2 separate regions of the Homo sapiens genome follow, and region 1 is linked to region 2. The links are contacts of gene promoters, found by promoter capture Hi-C in blood cells and fetal thymus (Javierre and others, 2016). All regions are on one chromosome and are shown on one strand. The core of a region is centred on a gene start or on the middle of the fragment in contact, and the rest is flanking DNA. Distances in the headings are between cores, read along the strand shown.

What was found. The method cuts DNA at HindIII sites, captures the fragments that hold promoters and counts their contacts. A CHiCAGO score of 5 or more calls a contact.
Region 1: a contact is called between a fragment that was not itself captured here and the fragment with the promoter of PABPC1 in region 2, in 1 of 17 cell types (neutrophils). The highest score is 5.5, in neutrophils.

What each region holds. Positions count from the first base shown.
Region 1 is chr8:102,207,758-102,212,277 of GRCh38, reverse strand. It overlaps RRM2B (ribonucleotide reductase regulatory TP53 inducible subunit M2B), which reads left to right. Exons shown (of 9, transcript NM_015713.5): 9 at 3,993-4,520. The coding sequence ends at 4,145. Among named protein-coding and RNA genes, the nearest start is that of RRM2B, 29 kb to the left of the region's middle. The HindIII fragment of the contact is 1,350 bases long and covers 2,095-3,444 here.
Region 2 is chr8:100,719,629-100,724,155 of GRCh38, reverse strand. It overlaps PABPC1 (poly(A) binding protein cytoplasmic 1), which reads left to right and starts at 2,068. Exons shown (of 15, transcript NM_002568.4): 1 at 2,068-2,765. The coding sequence starts at 2,573. RefSeq lists enhancers at 941-1,441, 1,442-1,942, 1,997-2,829 and silencers at 1,232-1,941, 2,022-2,101, 2,782-2,891. The HindIII fragment of the contact is 6,173 bases long and covers 1-4,527 here.

The DNA of each region.
Region 1 (4,520 bases), core at 1,520-4,019, 1.5 Mb before region 2:
AGCCTGCAGCCACACTATCTGGGTTTGAATCCTGGTTCCACCACTTTCTAGCTGTGTGACCTTTGGCAGGTTGCTTAACTATCTCAGTTTCCTCATCTATAAATTAGAGATAGTAATAATATTTACTACAAAGGATTGTTGATGAGTTGATACACTTAAAGCACTTAAAATAATATTAGACACATAATAAACTCACACTAGATGGTCACTTTGTACTTAAGTGAAACACAGAAATTCACTATGTACTATACCATGGTAATTAGAAATACAGATTTTGATTTCTTGTCATGAAAATGTAAGTTCAAATTATCTTTAATGAGAATCCTTATGAAATCTATGATGCTGTGGTAATCATTACCTATCTTGCTAATGTTGTATTAGCAGATATAGCAGAATTATATTCTGATAACCACCCAGGTACTTAATGAAAAAGTCAAGTGGGGCGTAGGTTTTTTTGGTAAGATAAACTACATTTTAACATTTTAGTTGCAAGATCCTCTCTGTGTTTACTAATTAATGAGAAATCAAGATTATAACTATATTAATATAATCTCTTAAACTTATAAACTATGTATATTAAAAGAAATTGTGTTTGTTCATAACTTTTACCAATATTTTTGTTATTAGAAAATGAATTTGCTTATTTAAGCCTTACAGTGAATTCGCTATTCTTTAACCCATTACCATATCCTCACATCCACACGTTCATGTTCTGCTGCTTATTAGAAAACTGCTGACCCTTGGGTCTAATTTTCCTTTTGGGAACTTGCTAACTGTAGGTATGTAAAACATGCCACCTCCTGCAGGAGAAGGTCTAAACACAATGTAAAACTTTGTTTTTCCACAGGCTTCAAAATATCTGAGTAAATTCTAAAAAGCAGAAATTATAGAGGCCTTAGATTTTTAATGCAATGAAAGTAGAAACTGATTTAAAAATTGCCAAAAAGCTTAATCTACTTAGAGATTAAAAATATATCCGTTAGGCCAGGTGCGGTGGCTCACACCTCTAATCCCAGAACTCTGGGAGGCTGAGGTGGAAGAATCACTTGAGTCTAGGAGTTTGAGACCAGCCTAGGCAACATGGCGAAATCCTACAAAAAATTAGCCAGGCCTGGTGGCATGCCTGTAGTCCCAGTTACTTGGGAAGCTGAGCTGGGAGGATCACTTGAGCCTGGGAGGCAGAGGTTGCAGTGAGCTGAGATTGTGCCACGGCACTCCAGCCTGAGCAACAGAGTGAGACCCTTTCTCTCTCGCTCTCTCTCTCTCTCTCTCTGCATATACATGTATCTCCTTTAAAATGAGATTTAAAATGAAAATAAAAATTAATTGAAAATATAAAGTAAATGACAATATGATTACTATGTATCAAAACTTGTAGGAGCTGGGCCTTGTGGCTGACTCCTATAATCCCAGCACTTCGGAGGCCAAGGCAGGAGGATTGCTCGACCCCAGGAGTTCCACACTAGTTTCAGCAATATAGCAAGACCCTATCTCTACAAATAAAAATAATAATAAGGCTGGGCACAGTGGCTCATGCCTGTAATCCCAAAATTTTGGGAAGCTGAGGCAGGTGGATCACCTGAGGTCAGGAGTTCAAGACCAGCCTGGCCAACATGGTGAAACCCTGTCTCTACTAAAAATACAACAATTAGCTGGGCATGGTGGTGGGTGCCTGTAATCCTAGCTACTCGGGAGGCTGAGGCGAGAGAATCGCTTGAACCCAGGAGGCAGAGGTTGCAGTGAGCCGAGATTGTGCCATTGCACTCCAGCCTGGGCAAAAAGACCGAAACTCTGTGTCAAAAAAAAAACCCACCAAAAACAAGCCACTTAATTTAGTTTGTTTTTTTGGTCTTGGTTACTTTGTCCATGCCATGAATGACTTAGATCTAATTTTTTGAAAAGTCTTCAGTTCTAACATCTAGTGAGTCTATGGCTATTGGTTCAGTGCCCTTTCACTGTATCTTGCTGTATATTACAGCTCCAATATTCCCTCACTTTTTACACACAATTTCTGATGGAGAATTTCATAGAATTTCACTCAGCCACACCCAGCATATGAGTTTTTGGAAAAAAGATACATAAATATTTAAAGCTTTATTTAAAGATTAAGTCACATAGCATGCAATTCACCCATTTAAAATGTACAATTCAATAGTTTTTAGTGTAGTCACAGAGTTGTACAACCATCATAACAACCTATTTTAGAACATTTTTATCACCCCATAAAGAAACTGTATCCCTATTAGCAGTCAGTCACTCCTCTTTCCTCCCCTTACCCACCTTGCCTTAGGCAACCACTAATCTAATTTTTGTGTCTGTAGATTTGCCTATTCTGCGTCTGTAGATTTGCCTATTCTGCATATTCTATTTCATACAAATGGAATCATATAATATGTGGCCTTTTGTGGTTCTCTTCTTTCCTTAGTGTGTTTTCATGGTGCATTCATGTTGTAGCATGTATCAGTGCTTTATTCCTTTATATGACCAAATAAATAATATTCCACTGTATGGATATACCAAATTTTATTTATCCATTCGATGGACATTTAAGTTGTTTCCTCTTTTGATCTATTGTGAATAATGCTACTATGAACGTTCATTTACACATTTTTGTGTGGACATGTTTTCATATCTCTTAAGTATACACCTAGGAGTGAAATTGCTGGATCATATGGTAACTCCATGTTTAATCATTAGAAGAACTACCAGACTGTTTTCTAAAGCAGCTGCACAATTTTATATTCCCACCCTGTATGAGGGTTCTAATTTCTCCACATCCGCACCAACACTTATTACCTGTTTTTTAAAAAATTATAGCCATCCGAGTAGGTGGGAAGTGGTATCTCATTGTGATCTTGATTTGCATGTCTCTAATGGATAAGGATGCTGAGCATCTTTTCATTTTGTATATCTTCTTTAAAGAAGTATCAGTTTGTCTATTTAGACACTCTGCCCATATTTAAAATTGGGTTACTTGAATATATGTTTATCTGTAGTGTTCATATTTTTTGCTGGGATACTCCTAAATTGAGAAATCCTCTTTTGTTACTCCTTGTGAATCACTGAAATATCCCACAGTTTCCATCAAGCTGTATCTCCAAGTCTGCTTCTTGAATTCTTTTTTTTTTGAAATGGAGTCTTACTCTGTTGCCCAGGCTACAGTGCAATGGCATGATCTTGGCTCACTGCAACCTCTGCCTCTCAGGTTCAAGCAATTCTCCTGCCTCAGCCTCTTGAGTAGCTTGGATTACAGGCATCTGCTACCACGCCCAGCTAATTTTTGTACTTTTAGTAGAGACAGGGTTTCACCATGTCAGTCAGGCTGGTCTCAAACTCCTGACTTCAGGTGATCCCACCTACCTCGGCCTCCCAAAGTGCTGAGATTACAGGCATGAGCCACCATGCTCGGCCTTGTTTCTTGAATTCTGAAGCAGTAAAAAAGCTTCTTGTTAGCATAGTCCCCCTTTTTGTTTGGAGACATCTAGTCACTATGGATAACATTTATTCTGTCTTCCCTGATCATGTTCCCTTAATGACAATTTGTTGATTATCTGTTCTCTTATAAACTAAGAAACATACTTAGAACCACAGTGGATTGTTGCTAATTTAACATTTTATAGTATCATGTATGTCTGACTAATAGTAATATCTATGAAAAATGCTCATGGTGTATTGGATATCTCAAGCTGTGAGAACATTTTCTATTGGTTAGTATTAAATATTTCAATTCCTGAAATAGTTGTGTTTTTTTTTCTATTTATTAGAATACCAGAGATGCTAGTACAGTTTCTTGAGGAGATTAGTGGTTGATCTTGGGTCATCTTAAAATTTGTCAGCCTTGAGTACCTCCAGGGTCTTAGGGGAATGATATGATCTTGTAGCTGACTAGATAGGTTTTGAGAAACCTGACCTCTGTTTTGGTCATCTTTGCTCTTATTGTGGATGTAATTTGATCTCTTCAGAATGTCTAATAATATTTCTTTCCTTTTTAGGTTTTTCAGGCAGAAAATCCTTTTGATTTTATGGAAAACATTTCTTTAGAAGGAAAAACAAATTTCTTTGAGAAACGAGTTTCAGAGTATCAGCGTTTTGCAGTTATGGCAGAAACCACAGATAACGTCTTCACCTTGGATGCAGATTTTTAAAAAACCTCTCGTTTTAAAACTCTATAAACTTGTCATTGGTAAATAGTAGTCTATTTTCCTCTGCTTAAAAAAAATTTTAAGTATATCCTTTAAAGGACTGGGGGTTTGCTCAAAAGGAAATCCAAAACCTATTCTAAACAATTTGCATTTATATAATTTTCCTGTTTAACAACAAGAGTGTGACCTAAATGCTTTTGTCTTGTCACTGAAATAAAAGATGGCATTATGTGGTTAAGAGCATGGGGCGAGGGGTCAGACATGAGTCTAAGGTTCTGCCCTTACTCCAGTGTGTGACCCTTGGCAAGTCAGTTAATCTTGGTAAACCTCGGTGTACTTATCTTTAAAATGGGAGTAATAGTAGGTCCTAAATTCATA
Region 2 (4,527 bases), core at 819-3,318:
CCATTTACCATCCAGGGCATCACTGCCTGTCAAGCTGCCCTGGAAGCCTAACAACTGTTTATTTTTTATTTATTTGAGTCTCGTTCTGTCACCAGGCTGGAGTGCAGTGACGCAATCCTGGCTCACTGCAACCTCCGCCTCCCGGGTTCAAGCGATTCTCCTGCCTCAGGCTCCCGAGTAGCTGGGACTATAGGCGCGCGCCACCACGCCCAGCTAATTTTTGTATTTTTAGTAGAGACGGGGTTTCACCATGTTGGCCAGGATGGTCTCGATCTCTTGACCTCGTGATCTGCCCCCCTTGGCTTCTCAAAGTGCTGGGATTACAGGCGTGAGCCACCGCGCCTGGCTACTTTTTGTATTTTTAGTAGAGACGGGGTTTCACCATGTTGGCCAGGCTGGTCTCGAACTCCTGACCTCAAGTGATCAGCGTGCGTCAGCCTCCCAAAGTGCTGGAATTACAGGAGTGAGCCACCGCGCCCGGTCACATTTTATCCTCTTTTTAATAGGAGCAAAATAGTATTTATGTGGGATTCCACTGGTTTAAATTCTAATTAAATGAGACAAGATATAAAGTACTTAATTCCACACCTAGCAATACAGTTGACATCCATTAAAGTTTATTGAATTAAGGAATAAATTGGGCAATCATTTAACTTCTTTGAGACTGTTCCTGTAACAGTAAAGTAAAATTATTACTACTTGCTCCACCTCCCACACCAGATTGCTCTCAGGAACAAATGATAGTATGTTTACGCGAGTGCTTTAAAAACTGTAAAAGCACTTTACTACTTTCGAGTGGAATTTGTATGTTGATTTAATGTCATTCCTAGAGCCGGTTTTTATTACTATCAATTCGTTAAATTTAGCATTCCTATTAAAACCCACTACTAATGTGCAGAATTGTTTTAGTTATTTATAAGGACGTTGTTTTAGACTATTCCTAATTTTGTCTGGTTGCAGGGCTGTGGTGCCATATAGTAGTGATTGTGACAAACCCGTACTTTCAGGAAAAACATTCACTTTTCTCCACTCCTGGTTTCTATCGCCAAGAAATGTCTGGCAGAAGCAGCACAAATCAATGATTCCAGCCTAGCACCTTAAGGTAAGAAGTGACCAAAGACCCCCAACACAGCTATCCCAAATTAAAGCCACTTTGACCAACGACAACGTCCAGTGAAGACACGGAGGAGGGTCGGGCTGGAAAAGAAGAGGACGAGGAACCCGAGGGGCCCTCCCCTCTCTCTCCCTGCCCCCCAACCCCGCGCCGGGAGCTCCAGCGGTGCCGGGGTCCAGCGCGCAGGACGGTTGGGGGGTCCCGGAGCGGGCGGCCAGGACCCGCGCAGCCAGTTGGTGTCAGCGAGCGCCGCGGCCGTTGGGGACTCCAGCTCCCAGCAGGCACCGCTTCTGCGGCCGACGCGCGTGGCGGCGGTGCCGGCTGGGACTCGTAGTGCGGTCCGGGTAGGAGAGAGCAGGGGGCCACGCTGGCTCCATCTACGCACGTTTCGGAAACCGGGCCCGGAGGGGACCACGCCCGCTCACCCGTGCCCGGCGTCCCCCGGAGCTGGGGCTAGAGGAGCCGGGCCGGCCGCAGCGGGAAGAGGCCACAGGCGGCCGCGCACGTGGGGGGTGGTTAGCGCGGAGGAACCCGGAAGCCCTTTGCACCGCCCACCGCCGCGGTGACGGGTTAACGCTCCTCCTGGTGGAGGCAGGGGCGGGCGGGGCGGAAGGCGGGGACGCCTCAGCCAACACCCCCGAGGACCGCCCGCGAGCCGTCCTCCCCACCCCCACGGACGCGACGCAGCGCGGGCTCCGCTTCCCCGGCCGCGGCGCCTGCGCAAAAGCCCCGCCCCTTCGCCCGAGCCCCACCCCCACACCGCAGCCTCCACCGCCGCCACCTCTCCCTTCCTCTCTGCTCTTTCCTCCTGTTTTCTCTTCCCTCCTCCCCCTGGCCTCCGCGTCTCCTCCTACTCCGGCGCTGACGCTCGCGTAGGGGCCCTGGCGTCAGACGCGCGGGGGCGGGGCGAGTGCGGCGCGGGGTATAAGTAGAGGGTGCAGGAGGCGGTGCTTCCCCTTCTCCCCGGCGGTTAGTGCTGAGAGTGCGGAGTGTGTGCTCCGGGCTCGGAACACACATTTATTATTAAAAAATCCAAAAAAAATCTAAAAAAATCTTTTAAAAAACCCCAAAAAAATTTACAAAAAATCCGCGTCTCCCCCGCCGGAGACTTTTATTTTTTTTCTTCCTCTTTTATAAAATAACCCGGTGAAGCAGCCGAGACCGACCCGCCCGCCCGCGGCCCCGCAGCAGCTCCAAGAAGGAACCAAGAGACCGAGGCCTTCCCGCTGCCCGGACCCGACACCGCCACCCTCGCTCCCCGCCGGCAGCCGGCAGCCAGCGGCAGTGGATCGACCCCGTTCTGCGGCCGTTGAGTAGTTTTCAATTCCGGTTGATTTTTGTCCCTCTGCGCTTGCTCCCCGCTCCCCTCCCCCCGGCTCCGGCCCCCAGCCCCGGCACTCGCTCTCCTCCTCTCACGGAAAGGTCGCGGCCTGTGGCCCTGCGGGCAGCCGTGCCGAGATGAACCCCAGTGCCCCCAGCTACCCCATGGCCTCGCTCTACGTGGGGGACCTCCACCCCGACGTGACCGAGGCGATGCTCTACGAGAAGTTCAGCCCGGCCGGGCCCATCCTCTCCATCCGGGTCTGCAGGGACATGATCACCCGCCGCTCCTTGGGCTACGCGTATGTGAACTTCCAGCAGCCGGCGGACGGTGAGCGCCGGGCTCCGCGGTCGGCCGGGCGGGCGGGCGGCCATGAGGCTCGGGCGGCGGCGGCGGGCGGGGTAGGCCGGCGGGCCCGGGGAGGGGGGCGGGAGGGCATGTCACCCCGCGACGGCCGGCGGGAAGGCGCCGGGGTCCCTGGAGCCGCGTTTCCCGAGCCGGCGGGGACCCGCGCTGCCGGCAGCCACACGCCCGGCTACTTCCTCCTTTGCGACCATTTTCTCGGCCTCAGACGCTCTCAAACTTTAGGGTGATGACGCGCCGGGAGGGTGGGTGAGATTCGGTTCCTCCGCGGCGCTCCCGCCAGTGGCCCCGGGATTCTGGGGCGTTGAACGCTGAGCTCCTTCCGTGGGTAAGAGGTGGAGGCGCTCCCACCACCCGGAGCTCCTGCCGGCGCCCCAGCCTGGGGAGGAAGTGCAGTTCTGTGCTCGAAAAATACCACGTGTTGAACCCTGTAACCTCGCAGGCCCGAGGCCTGCTTCTGCTCCTGCTCCTGGCCCAGTCGCCTGGGGGAGCCACCAGGCCTTAGGATAAAGTTCCTGTGGCGATGTGTGGTGTGGTGGTGGTCCTCAGGCTTGTGAGTCCACTTCCCAGAACTCATCAGTGACTGATGGATCTAGGAATGGAATTTACCGGAGACATGCATTTGGGGTTTCCCCTAGATCAAGCATTTCTCTAACATTAAAAGGGCAGAGTGGGAGGAGGGGATGTGGCAGCCGACCACTTTGAAGGCCAGTTTTCTCAGGCAACTTAGACCATTTTTAGTCAAATTTTATCTTAGATTCACAGTACTGGTGGTTTTCGAGTATATTATGTTACCTTCTGAAATAGTTCCTGTCGTTTTGAGGGGCTTTTCTTTATAAAATAGTCAACTTTGGCTATAAAATGTTACTTTAGTGTAATTCCAACTGGACCAGTCTTATCTGTAGCATGCAAGAAGTTCAAGTTTCTCTTTTATTTTTAAAAGTGGCCCATGATACCTGTAAATCTTGGGAAATGACTGAGTACAAAATAACGGAGATTAAATTGAGCTTGAAATTTATGGGGGAAATGCAGCTAACTTTGTGCTTTTATTTTGAAGCTAAACAGTTAACAGAAACACAATTTTGTAAACAGATAATATCTGTGGTCTGTTGAGTTGCTAGGATTTGTCTTTAGATCAATTGGCTTTGAGAAGTCAGCTTAATTCCATTTTACGGCCCAATTTTGCCTTTTTCCCCCCCTACAGGCTGGCCACTTGAATACATGTCAAATAATCGAAATATGAAGAATTCATTTTTATTAGAAAAGGCCTTAAGGGTGGAATTTAAGCTCCTATTAACATTCATTCAGTAGAACTTAGGTTACTGATCAGCTCTTCACTGTGTAAAGTTGATACTGATTTTGGAAGCAGAATATTGAGTGACACAGAGCCAGAAGTTGTAAAACTGCACTGCAGGTTTCCTGCCCTTTTGCTCTGTAAGCAGTAACTCCAAATGTCACTTCATAACAGTTCTTGTCAACCTTAGGCAGGATGTATCAATGCATGTCAGATGGGGGTAGATAACTTTGGGGCAGGTTATCACAACCTAAGAGTTGGTGGAGAAAACATGGGAATGAATTCTAGAGACCACAAAATGAAAACTTGAAAGTGTTACTCTTTCTCAGCTTAACGTTTTTAAATCCAAAAAACAATTTTTACATTTCTTGGGATTCGAAGAGTTGAACTTCAGGTTGCCGTGGTTACAGTGTACAGTATATATTATCAGTCTGT